Linked DNA regions of Homo sapiens: all the other regions are linked to region 1. The links are contacts of gene promoters, found by promoter capture Hi-C in blood cells and fetal thymus (Javierre and others, 2016). All regions are on one chromosome and are shown on one strand. Each heading gives the region's core, a stretch centred on a gene start or on the middle of the fragment in contact. The rest is flanking DNA. Distances are from core to core; before and after follow the strand shown.

Region 1 (3,165 bases), core at 408-2,907:
GCCTGTAATCCCAGCACTTTGGGAGGCAGAGGCGGGCGGATCACCTGAGGTCAGGTGTTCGAGACCAGCCTGGCCAACATGGAGAAACCCCGTCTCTACTAAAAATACAAAATTAGCCGGGCACGGTGGCACATCCCTGTAATCTCAACTACTTGGGAGGCTGAGGCAGAAGAGTAGCTTGAACCCAGGAGGCGGAGGTTGCGGTGAGCCAAGATCAGGCCATTGTACTTGGCTACTCAGGAGGCTGAGGCAGGAGAATGGCTTGAACCCGGGAGGCGGAAGTTGCGGTGAGCCGAGATCGCGCCATTGCGTTCCAGCCTGGGCAACAAGAGCGAACTCCGTCTCAAAACAAAACAAAACAAAAACCATGTTGAACTGAATGACTAAAGGGATGATAACACCTGCTTCACAACTGCAGTAATATTTATTTATTTTGGTTTTGTTTTTGAGATGGGGAGAGGGGAAAGGGGGGACCTCAAAGGGGTCTTGCTATATTGCTGAGGCTGGTCTGGAACTTAGACTCCTGAATAGCTGGCACTAAAGGCGTGCACGGCCAGTATATTTAAGTGACACAATATAGTGAATGGTAAATGCTACTATATTAGCTGTTGTTAATCATAATTATAACGTTTGCCATCTCTAGCGATCATACTTTAACCTTTCTCCATAACTTCAGTCTAAATATGTTGACATGTGGTCAAAAGTAATTCATGTTAGGTGAGAAATTAAGAGGAGTCATCCAGGCCTGAAACCAGCTCTGAGAACTGGATATACAGCCACCAAGTCACAAGCAAAACACCTCTCACCATCCCCAGCGCGGTAAAGGAGGGACCAAGGATGTCTATTGGTCGTCTGCTAGTTTGCTTTCATTAAGAGTCAGATGCTGGGGCCACGGTGTAGGTGTCACTGGAGCTGCGGGGGGGGCAAGATGACCCCGAAGTCACGACAGAAACAGTGAGTTTCTGCTGCTGACAAGTGCAGCCCTCTCAAGACAAAGAGCGAGTGCCATGTTTCCCAGATACAAATTCCTCCGGGGCAAGACCCACAAGGAGACCTGGTTGCTGGCGCCACCCAACAGCTCCTTCTGGGCTGCCCCTGGTTCTGTTCCCGCCCAGGGCTCCCCCTTTATCTCATCCTTCCAGCCCCTCCTCACTCACCTCCTTGCACAGCGCGGCTCAGAGGGGGCAGCGGAGGGGGGTCCTCAACTCCCTCCCAGCTCTCCGCCACCACCCCCCAGCCCCCTCAACACCCATTTCCGGCGCCCCGGCGTCCTTTCTCCCGCTCCGCGTCCCTCCTCCAGCCCGGCGTTCCCGTTCCCAGGACGCTGGCTCCCTCCTCTCCCGCTCCCTTGACTTCCCCGGCTGGGGCTCCGGCCACCGCCCCTTCCGGCCCCCTCCGGCGCTAGACACTAGCCCCGCGACCTCTTCCTTACCCCCCGACCCCCGCCCGTACCGGGATCAGTTCCTTGAGCGAGCGCCGCACAGGCACGATTTCCAGCTCGCCCTCCTCCACCTCCATGGGCTCCGGCTCGCCACGGTCAACACCGGACTCCGCCTCAGGGGACGGGAGCCCCAGGGCCGGCCCCGCCGGGGCCTCCGCCTTCACCGACACCCGCAGGCCCCGTACGGCCGCCATCGCTGCCTGCCGGCCGCACCACTGAGAGCCCGCCCCTCACGGCCGCCGGCTAGAGCGCCGCTGCCACTGGCCACAGAGGAGCCGCCGCAGCTACCTAGAGCGTCGCCGGCTTCGGCCCAGAAGGCCGCCCTTAGCGCCGCCGCCCCCTGGTGGCGGGAGAAAACCGGGCCGGCTGCGCGGGCGGGACCTGGGGAGGAGAAGGCGGGACTGAGCGGGGACGGGGGCGGGGCCTGCGGGAACTACGGAGCTTGGAGGAGACCGGGGTAGTCAAGGGTTACAATGTAGCTACGCCTTGAGGCTAAAGCTGTACTAAAAGCCAACTTTCCTGAGTGATCACTATGGGCCAGACACTTCCAAGCGCTCGAACCCTTAGAACAACTCTATGAAGTAGATCCTATTTTGACCCCCATTTCATATATGAGGAAACTGAGGCATAGAAATTGACCCAAGGTGACGCCATTTAAGGGATAAAAGCTGGATCTAAGTCTTCCAGAGTTTACAATGAGCCTTGATATATCACCTCTGGACAATCTGTAGGTTTATAAAGTTACTTGCCTTGCCAGTCTTTGTCTCTTAAAAGTCTCCCCAAAATTGGCCCATGTTACATACACAAAAATTGAGACTCCAAGAGGGAGAGACCTGCCCAAAGGCCAGAACTTGGACGCCGATTTCCTGACTCCTGAGGGTGCCATCCACTGTAGACCTGTGAGCATAGTTTCCGGCGGATATTTCTAACGAGAGCCTGGTGGGGGAGAGGGGTTGTCTACGCGTCCCGAGGGTGTCACTGATCAGCTGCTGTTCTGAGTCCTGATTTTCTTTTTCTTTCTTTCTTTCTTTCTTTATTCCTTTCTTCCTTCCTTTCTTTCTTCTTTTCTTTCTTTCTCTTTTCCTTCCTTCCTCCCTCTCCTCTTTCTTTCTTTCTTTCTTTTTTTTTTTTTTTTTTGTAGAGACAGGGTTTCACCATGTTGACTAAGCTGGTCTCGAATTCCTAACCTCAAGCGATCCACCCGCCTCGGCCTCCCAAAGTCTTGGGATTACAGGCATGAGCCACCGCGCCCGGCCTGAGTCCTGATTTTGCATCTTCCTCCCTGGGTAACCTTGGACAGGTTTTTGGGTCTGTTTTCCCATCTGAGGAGGGCATAGGTGAGACCCTACAGTCTCTGAGGCCCTGAGGCCCTACCAGCTCTGACCATGGAGGAGCAAATAATGATAAACCAAGGAAGAGCATGGTCAGCATCAGACACACCTGGGTTTCGAGCTGGCTGGCCGGGCCCCATCCACCATGTGTGACCTTAGGCAAGCTGCTTAGCACTTTGGAGTCTCAGTTCCTTCATCAGTAAAATGGACCATTACCTACCTACAAAGGAGGTTGTGAGGGTTAAATGTGATAATTTATATGTAGATACAGGGTCCAACAGAAGGGGTGCAGTACATCACAGTTTTTCTTAAATTTGGGCTAAACCACAGGATAAACACAAGACAGAGCTCTTTAGAGGACTAGTTTTATTTGATGAATGGGACACAAAGTAC
Region 2 (3,165 bases), core at 274-2,773, 250 kb after region 1:
TTTTCTATAAAGACAAGCAAGCACAGTTCACCAATGAGCATGAATACATTCTTATTAACTACAAAGATTTTTGTTCTGTAGATCTTTGTTCTACAAAGATTTTTTACCTTCTTACCTGCTTTTTACAAATTGCCTGAGCTCCTGAAGCTTCCATTTGTCATATTTTTCAAACCTTTTGAAGTGTTCTTCCGCACAAAATTTATCTGAAGATGAGTTATAGGCAAACACCAACCCACACTGGGCACCAATGCCACCACGTCGAACCTGGAAACAGAGATTAGGATGAAGTCTATCAAAGGGGCAAAAGTTCTGTGGCCGTTTTGTTTCCAGCATGGTTAAATTCAAACAGGTTAAAACAAAACGAGACCAATGAAAAATATTTCAAACATATTAAGCCCTCAAAAAATAAGAAAGCTGTTTCCCAAGAAATGTTCCTTAACTTTCTCAATCCTTATATTCTCACCATTTCAAAGACTTTACAGTCTATCCATCTTTGTGTCCCTGCCCTCTGCTACAGGCCTGACACAGAGTAAATCATCATTAAATGTTCAATGAATAACCAATGACATGGTCAGCCATAGGTCTGACTTTAAAAAAAAAAACCAAAACACCAATGACGTGGACTTCTGAAATGTAATAAAAGGTAATATTCAATAATAACCTAATTGTACATGGAAAAGTAACTACAACAGTGTAATGGATTGTTTATAACACAAAGACTAAATGCCTGAGGGGATGAATAGCTCATCCTCATCCTCTGTATGATTATTTCACATTGCATGCCTGTATCAAAACACCTCATGTACCCCACAAATATATATACCTACTATGTACCCATAAAAATTGAAAACAAAAGTAGTAACATTGCTTAAAGAAGGTAGCACGAAAATTACCATAATTCTTATCTGTGTAACTTGGAAGGCAGATTCAGTTCCGGTAGAAAAAATAGTGCTGGCTCTGGTTTTTCCAGTTTCCGTAAGAAAACCTGAAAAAAGGGAAAACTCAAGTTAGGGAACTAACCCATTTTTATAGCCCTAAGAACTAAGATCAACAAAAACAAACCATATCCTTTGAGTCATGGGGGGTAACTGGTCTGATATCTTCACGAAAATTAGAGAAAAATGTCCTCTTTGGACAGAGGCAACCCCGATGATAAAGCCCCAGGTAAGCAGAGAACTGACCAGGTTCAACTTTCCCAGGGCACAATCCCCTCCACCTCACAGGCAGCCCTGCTCTGAGGTAACAATAAGAAAATAAATGTTTAGGCCGGGCACAGTGGCTCACGTCTGTAATCCCAGCACTTTGGGAGGCCGAGGCGGGTGGATCACGAGATCAGGAGACGGAGACCATCCTGGCTAACACGGAGAAACCCCGTCTCTACTAAAAATACAAAAAATTATCCAGGTGTGGTGGCGGGCGCCTGTAGTCCCACCTACTCGGGAGGCTGAGACAGGAGAATGGCGTGAACCCGGGAGGCGGAGCTTGGAGATTGTGCCACTGCACTCCAGCCTGGGCAACAGAGTGAAACTCCGTCTCAAAAAAAAAAAAGAAAAAGAAAAAGAAAAAGAAAAGAAATGTTTATAAAACATTTAAGCCAAAGCGACAAAAGACTGGACAATCAATCATCTTCCTGAGCCACACCTACAACCATGGCTGATGGCTGCCTGGGCTGATAAAGCCTACTGGCTTAGTGGCTGAGAAAGGGATTAGTTAGCTTCTACAACACTTTGTCAGGAAAGGTTATGAAAGGCTTTGAAATGGGAAAAAAAAAAAAAAAAAAAAAAAAGAATCACTGGGTGTCCTAGCCAACATACCCTTTCGGTCGTCTCTGCCTTTTATGGTCTCTAAACTATTTTACAATTCTGTAAGTTGTAGAACACTGGTAGTGATGCACATGATTCTTGTCCACAGAACTAAACACTGTGTTCTGTGGAAATGTTGCTGATTATTCCTTATGGATACTGACCAACATTCTATCTATTTGTAAATTAATTTTAGCATTCTTGTTAGTCTACATGTATTTTATGAATTCTCCTTAGAACTGTTTGTAACATCTTACTGGTTCCCTCATTAATTAATGAGCTAAATAAAAAGTCTGGGCCAGGCACAGTAGCTCATGCCTGTAATCCCAGCACTTTGGGAGGCTGAGGCCAGTGGATCACTTGAGCCTCAAAACCAGCCTGGGCAGCACAGTGAGACCCCATTTCTACCAAAAAAAAAAAAAAAAAAAGCAAAAATCAAGGTGGGTGTGGTGGCTCACACCTATAATCCCAGCACTTTGGGAGGCTGAGGCAGGCAGTTCACTTAAGGTCAGGAGTTCGAGACGAGCCTGGCCAACATGGTGAAAACCCCATCTTTACTAAAAACACAAAATTCGCCGGGCGTGGTGGCACACACCTGTAATCCCAGCTACTCAGGAGGATGAGACAGGAGAATCGCTTGAACCCGGGAGGCGGAGGATGCAGTAAGCTGAGATCTCACCATTGCACTCCAGCCGGCCTGGGTGACAGAGTGAGACTCCAACTCAAAAAAAAAAAAAAAAAAAAATCAGCTGGGCACGGTGGTGCACACCTGCAATCCTAGCTACTTGGGAGGCCAGGGTGGGAGGATCGCTTGAGCCTGGGAGGTGGAGGTTGCAGTGAGCTATCATCACAACACTTCACTCCAGTCTGGGCAGTAGAGTGAGACCCTGTCTCAAATGAATGAATGAATGAATAAATAAATTAAAGTAAATAAATTAAAAGTATGAATGTGTTCACTTATATTTGTATGACAGTCACTATTTTCCTTTTTTGATTGTTGGTAATTATCCTTTAACAACTCATGAAAAAGTCTTCTGCTAGACCCAAGGTTGCCTTTCTCTTTCAAACGTCTCTAAATGATATAACTCAGCAATAAATAAGCTTTTTTTTCTGGGACTCTGAATTTTCTTAACAATTCTGCCTATCAAAATGACAAGACTAAAACCAATTTCATGCTTCCTGTTTCATTACATGGAGTTCAAGCCAACAAAAATTTATAAAGACAATGTGCAAAATGAGTCACCAAAACTAAGAAAATTAAATCCAAAGGAAACTTCTCTAATTCACACAGACGCTCTATGATCTAGTTCTATGAAAGAGCAATTCTATAGGCAATTTTAAGAATCCATACTACCAACAATTC
Region 3 (3,165 bases), core at 208-2,707, 200 kb after region 1:
TTCCTAGCTGCTGTTTCCTAGATGCTGTTTTTTTGTTCTTGTTTTTTTTTTTTTTTGAGATGGAGTCTCGCTCTGTTACCCAGGCTGGAGTGCAGGGGCGCCATCTCGGCTCACTGCAAGCTCCGCCTCCCAGGTTCAAGTGATTCTCCTGCCTCAGCCTCACGAGTAGCTGGGACTACAGGTGTCCGCCACCACACCCAGCTAATTTTTTGTATTTTTAGTAGAGATGAGGTTTCACTGTGTTAGCCAGGATGGTCTTGATCTCCTGACCTTGCGATCCACCCATCTTGGCCTCCCAAAGTACTGGGATTACAGGCATGAGCCACCACGCCCGGCCTCTTTATTTTAAAAAACAGAATAAACATACCTTTGATGCCCTTTTGAGAATCCCACTTTGGCAATGAGACTTGTTAAAGGGGCCCTTTCTGGAGGTGGGAGACTTTTCTAGAATCAGGAGTCTAGTGGTGAGCTGCCCAGATGGGCAAGGTGACAGCTGTCAGCTGCATTTCCTGAGAAGTCACTCAGAATCCCCCCAGTGACTGTTTGCACTCCTGGGACCCTCAGGGTGCCTTTCCCTATTGTCACACAGGCTTATGTGTGGAACTGTGGCTACATGGGAAGTGTTATGTGCATGGTGGAGGCACCCCAGCTTCAGGTCTGAGAAGGCCAAACGTTGACTTTCACTCTTTGGGGCCAAAGGTGGAGTGTGATTCAACACCAAACATTCAGGAGGTGACATGCCGTCTCCCAGGGGTACCTAACTCAGCCTCCCCTCTGCATATGTAACCTCAATATCAATCCTACCTTCAACCTCTTTCTGAGAAAAATGTGACTGTAAGACTGTCCTAAGAGAGGAATGAAACTGGGAGAGCTACTTGCTTTGTTAAATGTACCCTCTGAAAAGACCCGACACCATACTCCCTGTACCATATGGCACTTGCGAAGACAATATAATTCCCAAGTTATGGCAAATGACTTATCTTTTTTCCTGTTATCACAGGACACTGTAAACAGAATCTTCTGGATGATGCCTCTGGCTAAGGTTAGTTTCTCAGTTGTTGAAAACAAAAAGTATCTCTAGTCATTGGACGGAGAAAAGGTAGATACCCTTACCAGGGCCCTGGGGTTGCTTAGAAGCACGTGAGAGTTGAAAAACAGTGATCTGTCCTAGGGGCCCCAATGGGATACAGTCCTTATGGCCACTGTAGTGGCAACACTCAGGTTCAGTTGTGGGGACAGTGCTGGAAATTGCTTGCAGCTTTACTTGAAGACTAAGAGGAAGAGCCAGAGGCAGGATACCCTGGGCGCACCCGGCTGCTGGTGGGTGGGAAGGGGACTCAAAAGGTGGGAATGGCTCAAGAATAAAAACAGTGCCCTGGGACCTCTTTGGAAAAAGTCCCATTTCAATCCTGAAGCAGGGAAGGCCTAAAACAAGCCTGAAACATCTTTCTCTATCAAAAATTAAGGAACTGTTCAAAAAATAATGGCAACATATCAAAAGAACACAAAAGCCAGGGAGGAGCAGTTTCCACTGCCCAAACATGGGACAATTTGAGCATCAAAATAAATAATGGGTCAGGCACAGTGGCTCAGGCCTGTAATCCTAGCACTTTGGGTGACTGAGACAGATGGATTGCTTGAGTCCAGGAGTTCGAGACCAACCGGGTAACATGGCAAAACCCCATCCCTACAAAAACTACAAAAATTAGCTGGCATGGTGGCATACACCTGAAGTCCCAGTTACTTGAGAGGCTGAGGTGGGAGGATCGTTGGAGCCCAGGAGGTGGAGGTTGCAGTGAGCCAAGATCATACCACTGCACTCCAGCCTGGGCAACAGAGTGAGACCCTGTCTCAAAAAAAATAAGAAAAGTGGCCGGGCGCAGTGGCTCACGCCTGTAATCCCAGCACTTTGGGAGGCCGAGGCAGGCAGATCACGAGGTCAGAAGATCGAGACCAACCTGGCTAACATGGTGAAACCCGTCTCTACTAAAAATACAAAAAATTAGCTGGGCGTGGTGGTGGGCGCCTGTAGTCCCAGTTACTTGAGAGGCTGAGGTAGGAGGATCATTGGAGCCCAGGAGGTGGAGGTTGCAGTGAGCCAAGATCATACCACTGCACTCCAGCCTGGGCAACAGAGTGAGACCCTGTCTCAAAAAAAATAAGAAAAGTAATAGATTTTTATCCATTGAATTAAAAAAAACCCATAAAAAAACCCTATTAAGTCCATTCTGACATAAATAAAAGGATAAACGGGGAAGCACAGTGCTTATGGGTGGAAGGTTAGTTTTAAGATGCTGAGGGCTCACAAGAAGATACAAATATTCCCAGGCTCAAAGGTGAGGACTACTGATTAATCCCATTTCTCCTAACAATGTTCTCTTTGTTCCCATCATAATCCGTGGGTGGTTAAAGTGCCGCCTACAGAAGACGTTTCATGGAAAAAATGTGGACGGTTGAGAGACAGGCTTGATGATTATGTGGCCTGTCTTCTACTGACTCTCTGGCTGAATGGAAATAATAAAAATGTTGATGTTTCTGCTGGCCAGTTTTGCTTTTGTATTCCTCCACATGAGAATGGGACCTTGGTGAGCTACAACCACCAGATGGGGGAATCCTTGAACTAGCAACCTGACAGACAGAGGACAGCAACATCAGCGACCCCTGTGGCAGTCAAGGGCCTTTTCAGCAGAAACACAAGCTCTGGAGGCAGCATCATAGAAACAATGGCGTGCTCTTCCATAAAACAATCTTTAGTGCCACTATCACAGGTTATACCTGGATCCAGAATAGCTTTTCTGTTTATGCAACTATGTGTAAATTACTGCGTCTACCCGGTAAACAGTAAGCATCAGTAACACCTAACTGTTGACTGAATATAAATACAGCTACACCGATACAGTGTACACCATGGGCTAGGAATGACTTTTTTTTGGTTGTTTTTTTTGAGATGGAGTCTTGCTGTCGCCCAGTTTGGAGTGCAGTGGCGCCATCTTGGCTCACTGCAACCTCCGCCTCCCGGGTTCAAGCGATTCCCCTGCCTCTCGAGTAGCTGGGACTACAGGCACGTGACACCAGCCTGGATAATTTTTTTTTTTTTTTTTTGTATTTTTAGTAGAGACAGGGTTTCACCCTGTTGGCCAGGCTGGTCTTGAACATCTGACCTTG

The links. The method cuts DNA at HindIII sites, captures the fragments that hold promoters and counts their contacts. A CHiCAGO score of 5 or more calls a contact.
Region 2: a fragment that was not itself captured here is called in contact with the fragment with the promoter of NCBP3 in region 1 in 3 of 17 cell types (megakaryocytes, naive B cells and erythroblasts); the score reaches 6.0 in megakaryocytes.
Region 3: a fragment that was not itself captured here is called in contact with the fragment with the promoter of NCBP3 in region 1 in 1 of 17 cell types (naive B cells); the score reaches 5.2 in naive B cells.

Annotation. Positions count from the first base shown.
Region 1 is chr17:3,844,589-3,847,753 of GRCh38, forward strand. It overlaps NCBP3 (nuclear cap binding subunit 3), which reads right to left and starts at 1,658. Exons shown (of 13, transcript NM_001114118.3): 1 at 1,453-1,658. The coding sequence starts at 1,635. RefSeq lists silencers at 1,357-1,646, 1,827-1,946. The HindIII fragment of the contact is 12,990 bases long and covers 1-3,165 here.
Region 2 is chr17:4,095,716-4,098,880 of GRCh38, forward strand. It overlaps ZZEF1 (zinc finger ZZ-type and EF-hand domain containing 1), which reads right to left. Exons shown (of 55, transcript NM_015113.4): 10 at 894-985; 11 at 116-264. Among named protein-coding and RNA genes, the nearest start is that of ZZEF1, 46 kb to the right of the region's middle. The HindIII fragment of the contact is 2,756 bases long and covers 146-2,901 here.
Region 3 is chr17:4,045,790-4,048,954 of GRCh38, forward strand. All of the region lies in intron 37 of ZZEF1 (zinc finger ZZ-type and EF-hand domain containing 1), which reads right to left. Among named protein-coding and RNA genes, the nearest start is that of LINC01975, 70 kb to the left of the region's middle. The HindIII fragment of the contact is 6,904 bases long and covers 1-3,165 here.